4 separate regions of the Homo sapiens genome follow, and regions 1, 2 and 4 are each linked to region 3. The links are contacts of gene promoters, found by promoter capture Hi-C in blood cells and fetal thymus (Javierre and others, 2016). All regions are on one chromosome and are shown on one strand. Each heading gives the region's core, a stretch centred on a gene start or on the middle of the fragment in contact. The rest is flanking DNA. Distances are from core to core; before and after follow the strand shown.

Region 1 (3,344 bases), core at 658-3,157, 290 kb after region 3:
TTTCCATCTGTTTGCCATTGGTTGGGACTTCTCCAATGTGTTAGGAAAGCTGCTGTGCTGAGTTGCGAAGAGAAATTCACATGTCCATGGTCTTGCACAAGGGCTCATTTGCTCACTTAGAAGGTTTTATGTAGAGCCTCTGCCTGGGTGAAAGACATGAGCTTCCCTGGAAACAATTGAAAAACATCTTCTGCCTGGCCACTCAGTCTTGAGCTCTAGTAGGTTACACTGTTTTTCCCTTCTGGGCTTCTTTTTGAGGAAGGGGAGTGTGGATGGGAAGAAATCTTCACAATCAGTCTCAGATTCCCAGCAGCAGAGAGTGAATTGTATGTTGTAATAATAAAAAAAAGAATACCTAAAGAACAAGATATCAATTTAGTGACCATTATTGAGCATTTACTATGTATAACACACATTTGGGTGTGTAAAGGTGATTCTAATTTCAGTCCAGCTGATCCTTTCTTCTGTGAACTTGGGCAAATGACTTGACCTCTCTAGGCCTTAGTTTCTCCAACTGTGCTTAGACTAGATCATTCCTAAGGTTTGTTACAATTTTAGAATTTTGTACTCTAAACGTGTATCTGTTTGTTACAGAACAAGAGAGGCTTTTCCACAAAATTGACATATTCTTATGTCTCACTTCAAACTAAATGGCTTAAAAATGGTTCCTCTAGAGCAGGATTTCTCAACCTCAGACTATTGACATTTTGGGTGATTCCTTGTTGTGGGCACTGTCCAGGGCATTTTAGAATGTTTAGGAGCCAGCATTCCTGTCCTCTGCCCACTAGATGCCAGTAGCTCTTCCCTACCCCTCTGCCCGTTGTGACAACCAAAAATGTCTCTAGACATCAGCATTGCCCCTTGAGGGGAAATCGTTTCTGTTGGGAGCCATTGGTCTAGAGGAACAAAGATGGGACTATTTGAATATGGGCTGTTTTTAATATCAGTTTTCATGTTATTCCACTATTGCTTATTACCTGTTTAATCAGTAAGCATGCATTAAGTGTATACTATACACAGATGAATGCCGACGCTTGATTATGAGGGACTTTAATGACCATGTCAAGTTTTCAAATGTTGAGTCCACCTGGCCAACTTTGAAATGATTGCCCAGCTGTTAGCGCAGCAGTCCCTACACGCCTACACCCACCAGCCTGCTATTAGCCTTGGTCAGGGTAATGATTGAAATGTATGAAAGCATTCACTCACAAAGGCTATCAGATAGCAACCTAGGAAGGCCCTGGGATTGTGAGTTATGGATCGGGACTGGGTCTTGTGCATCCAGAATCTAGTATTATGATAGTTATCCCTTCAGCTTCCTAGGGGAAAAAAATTCCTCGTCAAAGTGGTGGGGTGAGGAATCTATCCTAGGGATGGAGGATGAAGAGCAATCTCATTGGACAATGACCATATCACCCTTTTTAGTAGCTTCTTCTAAACATAGGCCCTTTCCCTCCCGCAGTGGGCAGGCTCACTTTGCAGCTTTAGTTTTTTGTTTTGTTTTGTTTTGTTTTTGTTTTTAAATATATGAGTAGATACTGGTTGTTGCAAAGAGGAAGTTAAACTGAAGTAACCTAAAAATGTAAAGAACTGAATGTCCCCAGGAGATGAAGACAGTAACTTGAGAACCAAGTTTGCTTATATTACCTGAAGTGAGGTCACTAGGAAATTGGTTTAATTATAGTATCAAGTTTTGAAATATCAGGTCCACCTGGCTGACTTTGAAATGATTTGCCCAGCTATTAGCTCAGCAGTCCCTCCCTGCACACCAACTCCACCCAGCCTATTGTTAGCCATTGAAGTGGTGATTGAAATGCATTAGATTGCCCAAGAAATCTAATCTTTGGACTTGCTACATTTGCTATAAAATATCAGTTTAGGTTTAATAACTTTGAATTTGCTCCCAGTACCCCCAGATTTTCTCATCTGTTTTAAATTCACATTCTGCACTTGGTCGGGTGCAGAATGGTGCTTCTCGCTGATTGGGGTAGAGTGTGTTCTGTGAGCATCTTTGCTGGGATGCTCTGGGATTCCAAAGCCATGATTCAGACACTTAAGCCTGTGTCAGTCCCTATCCTTAGGTCCTGGCAGGCTCCGTGTTCCATTCCAGCTGAGCCTTTGCTGGAGTAATTACCCACATGGAGTCTTCAAGCCAAACAATTGTTTGTACTGAGATAGTCTCACTGTTTGGCTCCTAATGAAATAATCTCTTTCCTGCCCTCAATGAAAGCAGCTATTTTTTGTGTCCTCCCTCCCCTATTCAGAGAAGCCATGTCTCATCCACCACTCTTCCAGCTTATTCATAAATGCTTTAAGCAGGGTCTTTGTGTAAAGGAAATTGGCTGGAGCTGAAATATCATAGGCTAACCAGGAGACAAGGAGCATTAAGGACACCCTTTTCCTTGACTTTCTATTTAGGGTATTTAAATTACCTTTCTGTGATTTTCTGTAATAAGCAATCTAAAACTTAAATCCACATAAGCAAAATAGTCATACTAGGTTTTTAAAAAGTATACTAAATTAGGCCGGGCTCAGTGGCTCATGCCTGTAATCGCAGCACGTTGGGAGGCCGAGGCAGGTGCATCACTAGGTCAGGAGATCGAGACCATCCTGACTAACATGGTGAAACCCCGCTGTCTCTACTAAAGACACAAAAAATTAGCCAGGCGTGGTGGCATGCACCTGTAGTCCCAGGTATTCGGGAAGCTGAGGCAGGGGAATAGCTTGAACCCGGGAGGCGGAGGTTGCAGTGAGCCAAGATCACACCACTGCACTCCAGCCTGGGTGACAGAGCGTGAATCCATCTCAAAAAAAAAAAAAGTATACTAAATTAGTATAATTTTATTGTTGTTGTTACCTAAAGGAGCTCTCAAAAATAAAAGCTGGCCAGGCGTGGTAGCACATGCCTGTAGTCCCAGCTACTCAAGAAGCTGAGGTGGGAGGATTGCTTGAGCATAGGAGATTGAGGCTGCACTGCACTCTAGCTTGGGCAACAAAGCAACAAACCCTATCTTAGAAGAACAAACAAAAAACCCAACAACAGAACAACCACAAATGAGTGAGTGCAGCAGGAGAGGCAGCAGAGCGCCGTGGGAGTTGGAATAGGAAGGAGAAAAGGCTTCATGGGGAAAGTGGGCAGAGCAAGATTTGCACAAAAAGATGTTTTGCAAATAGAGGAAATAGGCCCTGTAAAGCTATTTGTGAGAGACTGTAAGTTGATCAACAAAGTGTAAGTAGTTCTTCTAACTTTTTTTTTTTTTTTTTTTTTTGTGACAGAGTCTTGCTCTGTCGCCCAGGCTGGAGTACAGTGGCTCAATCTTGGCTCACTGCAACCTCCACCTCCC
Region 2 (3,375 bases), core at 309-2,808, 280 kb after region 3:
AGGAGTCACAGAGGAGAGCTAATGAGTATTAGTGGGAGCAGGTATTCCAAGTGAGAGGTGACCAGAGTCCTCTGAAAATGTGGGGAGGGGGTGACGTTCCTATATCCTGGGTTAGGGGCTTGGACTCTTATATTTGGCTGTTGGAAAAAACAAGCTGGAGGACTTTGGGGTATCAACAACCCTCAGGTTACATAAGGATGATCATAGGGTCGTTGTGAGGATTATGTTGGGATAGTTCATGCAAAGCGCTTAACACAGTGCCTAGCGCATAGTAAGAGCTCAGTAAATGTTAGTTGTTGTCTTCCTTCACTTTCTTCCATTCCCTCCACTCCCTTTCTACCAGGCTCCATTCATTCTCTTCCAAGGACACGCAGGGGGCGTGCCCACCCCTTCCCTCCGCCCCCACCCAAGGCCCGCCCCCCGCTTCTCCACGGATTGGTTCCCGAGAGGCGGAGCTGAAGGAAGAGCCCAGTGCGGCGCGGTGGGGGCGGGGCGCATGCGCGAGCTGGGCAGGGTGGAGGTGGGGAGGAAGAGCTGCCGGAAGTAGGCGGTGGAGGTGGTAGCGGAGCTGACGGCAGCTGCCAGGGAAACCGAGGCGCGGGACGCAAGGCCAGCAGACAGGCCGGCCAGAGGGTCATCTGCGTCCGGCACCCAGGAGGCTCGTGGTCCGCCTTTGCCTGGGCTGAGGGTCTCTGGCCCCGCAGCCTCTCTTGGAGGCGGGCCTGTCCCTAAGCCCGCCAAGGGGCGCCGCGCCGAGGGGCTGCGGAGTGGGGGACGGACGCCCCCGACCCGGGAAGGGGCGTCCGGCGGGGCCGGAGGAGAGGGCTCTCCCCGCTCAGGAGGTGCCCCTGGGCGGGGGACCGGGAGTCCTCAACCCCGGACTGAGGCAGGGGTCTCTGGGGGCGAGGAGGGCGCGTCGCCCTCTGCCCCCGCCGGCACCCTGGCCATGACAGGCAAGTCGGTGAAGGACGTGGATCGGTACCAGGCTGTCCTGGCCAACCTGCTGCTGGAGGAGGATAACAAGTTTTGTGCAGATTGCCAGTCTAAAGGTAGCGCATCCCACCTGGCGGGCCAGGGGTCCAGCCGCGCCGGGGTGGTGGGGGTGGGCTGCGTGAAGAGGCGGTTTCTGAAGCTTAGGCCGCCCAACTCGGCTTATAAGTGGTAACGCGTGCTGCGCTTGCAGTGAGCCTACTGGGCTTTCTGCAGCTGGGGGATTGGTATGGGTAGAGCTTGCGAGGGCGAGTCTGTGTGTGTCGGGGAGGGTGGAGGTGATGGTGCGGGTGGAAGTTGCCTGGCGTGTTCAGGTGAGAATGTCTGTATTTGAGGGCTCTGAATGAGTTCTGGGCCGGCTGTCCAGAGAGAGCTCCCAGCATGTCACTTGCAAAGCTGGGGATGAACTGCATTGCGTGCGTGCGTGCGTGCGTGTGTGTGTGTGTGTGTGTGTGTGTGTGAGAGAGAGAGAGAGAGAATGACGAGGAGGAGGAGGAGGGAAGTGAGATGGCGGAAAGGAAAACTGCTTAAATGATTTTTAAAGGTGGTGATTTTTGCTTCCTGCTATTTGGTTAGCAACTCCTGTCATTTTGCAGCCTTGCTAAGATCTGACAAGAGTGCTTAGGTGACTTTATTCTTCTGGATGTGTGCAGTGGGAAACTGCCTTATGCAGTGACACAGTGCGGATTTCTAGGCAGTGTAGCCCTGGCTTGTAGAGTGCGTTGGAGGCCTATGTATGAGTGGTGGCAGAAACTAGCCGATTATGCCTGTAGTGCAGGATCCGTTTAATCAGTGGAGAGAGAAAGATGAATTCGATGAATTCATTGCTTCCATGGCGATTACACTTCTAAAGGTGAAATATGATCATTGTAAATTGGCAGAACCATTTAGTCTTTGTTTTCTGTGCCCTAGAAGATTCATGATTTGATACAATTAAAAGTCAGTACAATAGGAAATCTTGGTTATTAGTGAAATGTTGGCACTTGACATTTATACAAGCTTCTATGAATCTTTTTTTCCTGTATTTTCTAATTCTTTTGGCATATAATTGGAGGATTGGGAAAATTATTTTCCCTTTGGTTGGGTCGAAATGGATAGTTATATTTTGGGGGCGACAATTTACTTTTGTTCATAATGCAGTGGATTTGCCATGGTTGTTTGCCGTACAGCGTAGTGGGCATATACTATAAAACAAAGATTCAGTTATATTCGTATTTATCTATTTTGAGAAAGGAAGGACATATTTAATTGATGCTTTCACTTAATTACCTTTTATTTTTGAAGAATAAGGTTATAAAAGGAGAACAGGGGAGGGATACATAGACACCTAGTAATGTATTTTAGTGACCTCTACCAACAGATAAATGGAATGTGCCATTAGGAAAACAAATTCCTAGACTTCTTTCCTGAATTTTTGCATTAGCAATAATTCATTTTAAAAAGTATTTTAGAATCAATTTATGTTGAGTAGGTTAGCTTCTTGATTCTTGTTACATCTTCTGTTAGGTCTATTGGAAGATTTGGTTTATTTTAGGAGTGTATCTTGGCTTTATTCAAATTCCCTTATGTCCTCATTTGACAGATCTTGAGTCACAGTGAAGCAACCCACTGGAGTGAGCATTGCTGCATTTGGAGAGTCAGATGCCATTTTGGTGACTAGAACCCCCCCCCCCATTTCTCATATTACCCTTATACTTACTCATATTCCAATAAAATACAGCACATGGAAGAGAGAGGCTGATTCACTACTTCTTCCTCCAAATTTCCATTGCTTTTTATTTATTTTATTTTTTATTTTTATTTTTTGAGACAGTTTCGCTTTGTCGCCCAGGCTGGAGTGCAATGGTGCAATCTCGGCTCACTGCAACCTCTGCCTCCCGGGTTCAAGTGATTCTCCTGCCTCAGCCTCCCGAGTACCTGGGATTACAGGCGCCCGCCACCATGCCCAGCTGATTTTTGTATTTTTAGTAGAGACAGGGTTTCACCATGTTGGCCAGGCTGGTCTTGAACTCCTGACCTCAGGTGATCCACCCGCCTCAGCCTTCCAAAGTGCTGGGATTACAGGTGTGAGCCACCATGCCCAGCCCGAAATTTCCGTTGCTTTTTATTAATAAGCTTACTGGGGATCAGGTTATGAAATATCAGTTAATTCTTAATGAGAACTAGTAACTGCTGGCTTGTAAACTTTATTAACTACTGTTGATGGTAGAATCCTGGATCCTCAATTTCTTTTCAGAAGTTCGTTTTACATTTTACCAGGTGGCTTCAGGGACTTGGTCATTGTATTAAAAATGAGATGACAATGGGTCAGTCATCTTTAGATTATGACAAATAGGCATTTGTTGAGGCCTCTGTTTATCCAATTTATGAATTACCTATCCCATT
Region 3 (3,121 bases), core at 451-2,950:
CCTACAGGCTTCCCCATCTTGGTAAAATGAAAACTTCACCCTTCCAATTGTTCAGGCCAAAACCTGTGGAGTCATCTTTGGCTCCTTTCTTTCTCTCTTATTCCAAGTCTGATCTGTTAGCAATCCACCTTCAAAATCTATCCAAACTTTGACCACTTCTCAACACCTCTACTGTTACTCTACAGTTCCAAGTCATCATCTCTTGTTTAAATTATTGCAATAGTTTCCTAACCTGTCTCCCTGTGACCATCCATGACGCCCTACGATCTATTCTTAATACAGCAACTAAAGTGATTCTTTAAAAATGTGTCAGATCATGTCACTCATCTGCTCAAAAAGTTCCCCATGACACTCTAGCCAAAGTCCCTGCATTAGTCTTACTAGGCCCAATAACTTCTGTACCTGCCCCTCCCTTCCAAACTAAACTCCTAACTTCTTCCCCTTGCTTACTCATTTCCAGCCACGCTGATCTGAATGCTGTCCCTTGAACACACCAGACATACTTCCACATCAGGGCTTTCCCATTTACTGTTCCTTCTACCAGACAGCCAAATGGCAACTGTCCTCATCTACCTCAGTTTTGTACTCAGATGTCACTTTTTCAATGAATTCTTTCCCAACTTTGCTTTATTAAAAGTGCAAGCCCCCACCTCCAGTTTTTATCCTACACCCTACTATATTTTTCTCTGTTGCACATATCACCATTTGATATGTTATGTTTTACTTGTTAATTTCTTTATAATCTGCTTCTCCTACTGGAGAGTAGGTTCCAAAAGAACAAAGAATTTAGTCTGTTTAGTTCCCTACTGTATCCTCAGCACCTAGTAGGTGCTCAATAACTGTGTTAAATGAATATAGGTTGAGCATCCTAATCTGAAAATGGGAAACCCAAAATCTGAAAGTTTTTCAGCGCAGACATGATGCCACAAGTGGAAAATTCCACACCTGACCTCATGTGATGGGTTGCACAAAATTATTTAAAATATTGCATAAAATTACCTTCCAGCTATGTGTATAAGGTGTATATGAAAAATAAATAAATTTCCTGTTTACACTTGGGTCCCACCCCCCAGATCTCTTGTATATATGCAAATATTAAAAAAAAAAAAATCCGAAATGCTTCCCAGTCCCAAGCATTTCAGATAAGGGTTACTCAATTTGTAAATGAACTGTAGGTGCCTAACAAATCTCTGTTCAATGTGTGAAGGAATAAATAAAAGGGTAGATGCGCCAGTCATATAGCCAGCCGCAGCTCACCTAGCCTGACCAAGTGAGAGATGCTGCATCCTGACGCCACTACTGTAAGGATTAATCAAGGACAGCATGTAAAACTTCAACGCCGTGCGCGGCTCTCTCTTTCCTTCCCCTTCTCTCTTTCCAGTGAAGGGGACGGCTCCTTCCCCTTCTCTCTTTCCAATGCAGATCCTTCAAATCCTAAAATGTCGAGGCAGCCGCGTGCTGTGGGACCACGTCCTCGCCCTCTACACCCGCATTTTGCAGATGCGAACCCAGGCTAGGAAGAGAGAGAATCGCCAAACCCTTTTAAATTTCTCACTCACTCACCCATCCCATGCCAGATCACCAACGGCAGCGGCGCCGGCGGGTCCAGATGCTGCAGCGCCCGAGAAGCGCAGGTCCATGGCAGGAGAGCCACAGCCAAGAGCCACAGGCAGCCGGGCGACGCCATCTTCGCTGTGTCACATGACCGCGGGCGCGAGACTCCGGGAACCGCGCTCCGCCCGCCTGGGCGTGGCGCCGCCGGTTGCAGATCGCAACCTGCGCATCCCGAACGGATGCCCAGCCTGATGGGCGTCGGCCCTACCCTGGAGCTTTCAGCGCGACAGGTCCCCCGCCAGACCCCGCTGGCCGAGTGGGGCTCTGCGCTCTCGTAGACCGCCCTCTGCGGTGAATCAAAATAATTGCTAACATATATTCAGTGCTGATCAGATGCTATCAGGCACTATTCTTACAACCTTTAACTAATTCACTCTTCATAACAATGCTGTATGCACTTCTCCCCCTGACAGGTGAGGACACTGAGGCACTGCGAATTGGCACTGAGTAAGGTGCCCAAGGTCACAGAGATAGCAAATTGGTGGTTCCAAAGTCGTTGCTCTTCACCACTGCCCTGTACTGCCTTTGCAAGAAACATGCACAGAGGAAGGAAGAAAGAAGGAGGGACGGTTTCCAGCCAGGACCAATCATGGCAGGGTGTGGGGTTTGTTCTGGATATTGAAGGAGAGGTAGGATTTCAACAAGCAAAGATGAAATTCAGAAGGACTGAGATGAGCTAAGGTAGAGAGGAGAAAGACAACTGTGTTTTCTAGAAATGTCGGGACTTCAAGACGGACGAAAGCATATGTTGGATGCATAAGAGTGAGGGGGAAACCCATGGCCACTAACTGGCCTAATCTCAGCTGGATTATTTCAAGGGTCTCTCATCAACCATTTCCTTTTCCATTCTCTCCTCTTTAATTCATTTTATGCTCTATTGCCACATTCATCCCTCAATCCACCTTCATAATATCAGTTCCCTGCTCAAGTTTTTTTTCAACAAAACATCAAAAAATAGTTTAAATAATTTATAAAGAAATTAGAGTGTATCCACTATACAATGGAATAATATGAGGCCAGTTTTATAAAAAATGAGTATAGGGCCGGGCGCGGTGGCTCACTCCTGTAATCCCAGCACTTTGGGAGGCTGAGGTGGGCAGATCATCTAAGGTAGCGAGTTCGAGACCAGCCTGACCAACATGGAGAAATCCCGTCTCTACTAAAATTACAAAATTAGCCGGGTGTGGTGGCGCATACTTGTAATCCCAGCTACTCAGGAGGCTGAGGCAGGAGAATCTCTTGAACCCGGGAGGCAGAGGTTGCGGTAAGCTGAGATCATACCATTGTACTCCAGCCTGGGCAACAAGAGCAAAACTCTGTCTCAAAAAATAAGAATAAAAAATAAATAAAAAGAGAGTACAGCCCAGGCAGCATAGCAAGACCCCATCTCTACAAAAAAAAAATTTTTTTTTAATTAGCCAGGGGTGGTGGTATGTGCCTGTAATCCTAGCTACTGGGGAGGCTAAGGTGGGAGGATCACTTGAGCCCAGGAGTTCAAGGCTGCATT
Region 4 (3,115 bases), core at 236-2,735, 320 kb after region 3:
TAACCCCCCAGAAGGAGAAGGACCTACCCTCATCAAAGACATACTGAGAACAGGTCTGAGATGTGGTAGATTAGAACTCTGTTTACTTGGAGGATCAAAAATAAGAGACTTCAGATATATAGGAGTATAGGTAGTAACCTTGGGAAAGCATTGCTTCTCGGGGAGATGGGCATGGCCTAAAAGGAGGAGGTACCCTTTAGAGGACTGGTGGTGAAGGAAAGAAAGACACGAGAAATGGGAATGAGAATCACAAAATCAAATATACACCTTCTTCCCTCTTCCAAAATAACCACTTCACTAATAAAAGATGGTGCTCTTAATCTAAGAAATTTAGTAAGCCTCCCCAAACCTTCACACCTATTATTGCTGATTGAGAAAAAATAAGACCTTACAAAAATGAACCAAACATGGAAGCTGACATTTGTACACAACTACTACAGGAAGAAAATAGAAAATGAAAATCAAAACATTTCACGTAATGAATATTCTCCCTCAAAAAACAGTCATGAAGCAGAAGAAAATTGTTACACAATCTACCAATCTGAATTAAATGTCCTTAAACATTTGCAGATAAGACAAAACACCTTAAATCAGAAATTCAAAAACTTAAAGCCAAAATGGATAAAAAACTGCATGCTGTGAAATGAAAGTTTACTAAACTCAGAAAAGAAATTGAAGAAAAAGCCAAAATTTTCGTATAAAGACTCAATTACAAGTTAGCTAAAGAACAATAGATTGAGCTGAAAATATATTCGGCATTGAGGAAAGGCATGAAACAGCTAAGAGAATGAAAACTAAATATAGAAAGTAGTAAAAAGAATTAGATGGAAATTAATATGGAAGTTAGGCAAAGAAAACTTACATATATTTGGAGATGCCCAAAGAAATAAAGACAAAATAAATAAAATATGGGACAGTATTAATGTGTTTAACACCAGAAAACATTCTAGAAATAAAAGACTTGGATATAATATGGAAAGAGCCCACTGTGTGTCTGGGAAAATTGACCCAGAACAGTCAACTTTAAAACATATCCCAGCAAATCTACAGACTTTAAAGAACATTCAAAATGTTTAGGGGTCCAACCTTTTCCATACCTCCTACCCACAAAAATCTGTTACTTAGAACAAACAAAAAATACCCAGGTTGACATCAGACTTCCTAGCAGCAAAATACAAAAAGAATAACAAGGAGAGTAGTATTTTAAAGACACTCAAGTGTATGCAAGACACAACAAGTATTTTACAACCAAGCCAGCCAAGCTATCCTTCAGGTATCAAGGCTGTAAAAAATAAATATGCAAGAACTCAGAGAATATCACACTTACAAGACTTTCCTGGGGAATCTAACAGAAGATAAGCTTCATCCACCTAAGAGATGACTGGGGTCATTTTCATTTTTGGCAAAAGAACTGATGGTGAGAATTGAATGTTTAATTGAGAATCTAAGACTAAAACAAAGGTGGTGACAAGCGTTGCAGAATATACATTATATTCTGACAAACAAATACAACTGAAAATGAAGGAGGAGGGAGAAAAGTTGAATAATAAATATTGTATGGGAAAGAAGTAGAAATCGAAGGATGCAATAAGCTGACAAACCAAATCACGGAAGCTTGAATAAGGAAAAAGGAGACCAAGGACATTGCTAAAAAGTATTACTATGAAGGTAATCACTAGAACAAACACGTGAAATGTTCTGAATACCAAGATAATTTTCTTCCTTTCTTTTTTTTTTTTTTTTTTGAGACAAAGTCTCACTCTGTCACCCAGGCTGGAATGCAGTGGCACAATCTCGGCTCACTGCAACCTCCGCCTCCTGGGTTCAAGTGATTCTTCTGCGTCAGCCTCCCGAGTAGCTGGGATTACAGGCACCCGCCACCACACCCGGTTAATTTTTTTTGTATTTTTTAGTAGAGACGGGGTTTCACCATGTTGGCCAGGCTAGTCTCAAACTCCTGACCTCAGGTGATCCACCCACCTTGGCCTCCCAAAGTGCTGGGATTACAGGCATGAGCCACTGCGCCCAGCTGAGAATTTTTAAAAACAGACTACAAAGTGCAGCAAATACAATAAACACAGTAAAAATCTAATATGATGGAGTTGAGACCAAACATACCAGTCATACCAGTAGGCAACTCTTCTATCAAAAGAAAATGATGTTCAAATTGGCTAACAAAGCAACACTAGTTTTGCACTAGGTACAAAGAAATACAAAGTGATTTAATGTGAAAACCAAGAGACAGGCAAAGGAACCCCAGAGAGGTGGTATGGTGCATGTGTACTGCACATGTGCATGTATAGCTATCTTTATCAGGGTTATACTTATTTATAAGAAGTACTTTTATGTTTTTGTTTCTCTGTGGTCCAGAATAATTTATGTAGCTCTGGTCTTTGAAGGTTTTGTGGAATTCCCATGTGAAGTTTGTGGGCACTATTGCTTTTTTTGTAGCAAATCTTTGATACTTTTCTCTGTTTCTTCTATGGAAGTCAATTTTGGAAAACTGTATTTACCTAGATTTTCCATTTCGCCAAGGTTTTCAAATTTATCAAAAGTTATGCCTAGCAGTCTCATTAATTTTTTTCAAAGAACCAGGATTTCGATTTATTGGTGCTACATTTTTCCGTTTTCTACCTCAATTTCCGTAGGCTTTCTATGGGTTTACTTTGTTATTTTCTAGCTTTCATAGTGGAGATTTTAATTCACTTATTTTCATTGTTTCGTTTTTATTTATATAAGTAATGGAATGCTATAAGTCTGATGGGAATATGTCAGAGGGACGCATGAGCCAACTTCCAGTGGCTCTGACTGGCCAAATGTGAGACAATTTGAACATCAAAAAGAGTAACAACAGTAATGGATTATGACACACTGAATGGAAAAAACAAAACAAAACCATGAGTCCACGGTGATATTTTTTAAAAACCAGGTGTGGAATGGAGGGAGGAAAAGCCTTCTTTACAGAAGAATGACAGTAGTTGTAAAAAGAGCAAAGGATTGACACATTTGCAAAGAAATGCCCTTCAGATTATTTATTAATTATAATGAAAGAAATATAGTCACTACCTCAGCCAAGTGATCAAACATAAAATTACTGACAGAGGAACAAAGTAAT

Evidence for each region. The method cuts DNA at HindIII sites, captures the fragments that hold promoters and counts their contacts. A CHiCAGO score of 5 or more calls a contact.
Region 1: a contact is called between a fragment that was not itself captured here and the fragment with the promoter of PPT1 in region 3, in 4 of 17 cell types (M2 macrophages, M1 macrophages, erythroblasts and 1 more). The highest score is 8.0, in M2 macrophages.
Region 2: a fragment that was not itself captured here is called in contact with the fragment with the promoter of PPT1 in region 3 in 3 of 17 cell types (erythroblasts, megakaryocytes and endothelial precursors); the score reaches 5.5 in erythroblasts.
Region 4: a fragment that was not itself captured here is called in contact with the fragment with the promoter of PPT1 in region 3 in 16 of 17 cell types (total B cells, naive CD4 T cells, total CD8 T cells and 13 more); the score reaches 9.2 in total B cells.

What each region holds. Positions count from the first base shown.
Region 1 is chr1:40,390,295-40,393,638 of GRCh38, forward strand. All of the region lies in intron 1 of SMAP2 (small ArfGAP2), which reads left to right. Among named protein-coding and RNA genes, the nearest start is that of SMAP2, 18 kb to the left of the region's middle. The HindIII fragment of the contact is 3,918 bases long and covers 1-3,344 here.
Region 2 is chr1:40,373,175-40,376,549 of GRCh38, forward strand. It overlaps SMAP2 (small ArfGAP2), which reads left to right and starts at 553. Exons shown (of 10, transcript NM_022733.3): 1 at 553-1,049. The coding sequence starts at 947. RefSeq lists silencers at 296-615, 686-825 and an enhancer at 811-1,310. The HindIII fragment of the contact is 857 bases long and covers 1,131-1,987 here.
Region 3 is chr1:40,095,552-40,098,672 of GRCh38, forward strand. It overlaps PPT1 (palmitoyl-protein thioesterase 1), which reads right to left and starts at 1,701. Exons shown (of 9, transcript NM_000310.4): 1 at 1,564-1,701. The coding sequence starts at 1,687. RefSeq lists an enhancer at 1,436-1,565. The HindIII fragment of the contact is 4,509 bases long and covers 1-3,121 here.
Region 4 is chr1:40,417,554-40,420,668 of GRCh38, forward strand. All of the region lies in intron 9 of SMAP2 (small ArfGAP2), which reads left to right. Among named protein-coding and RNA genes, the nearest start is that of ZFP69B-DT, 31 kb to the right of the region's middle. The HindIII fragment of the contact is 254 bases long and covers 1,359-1,612 here.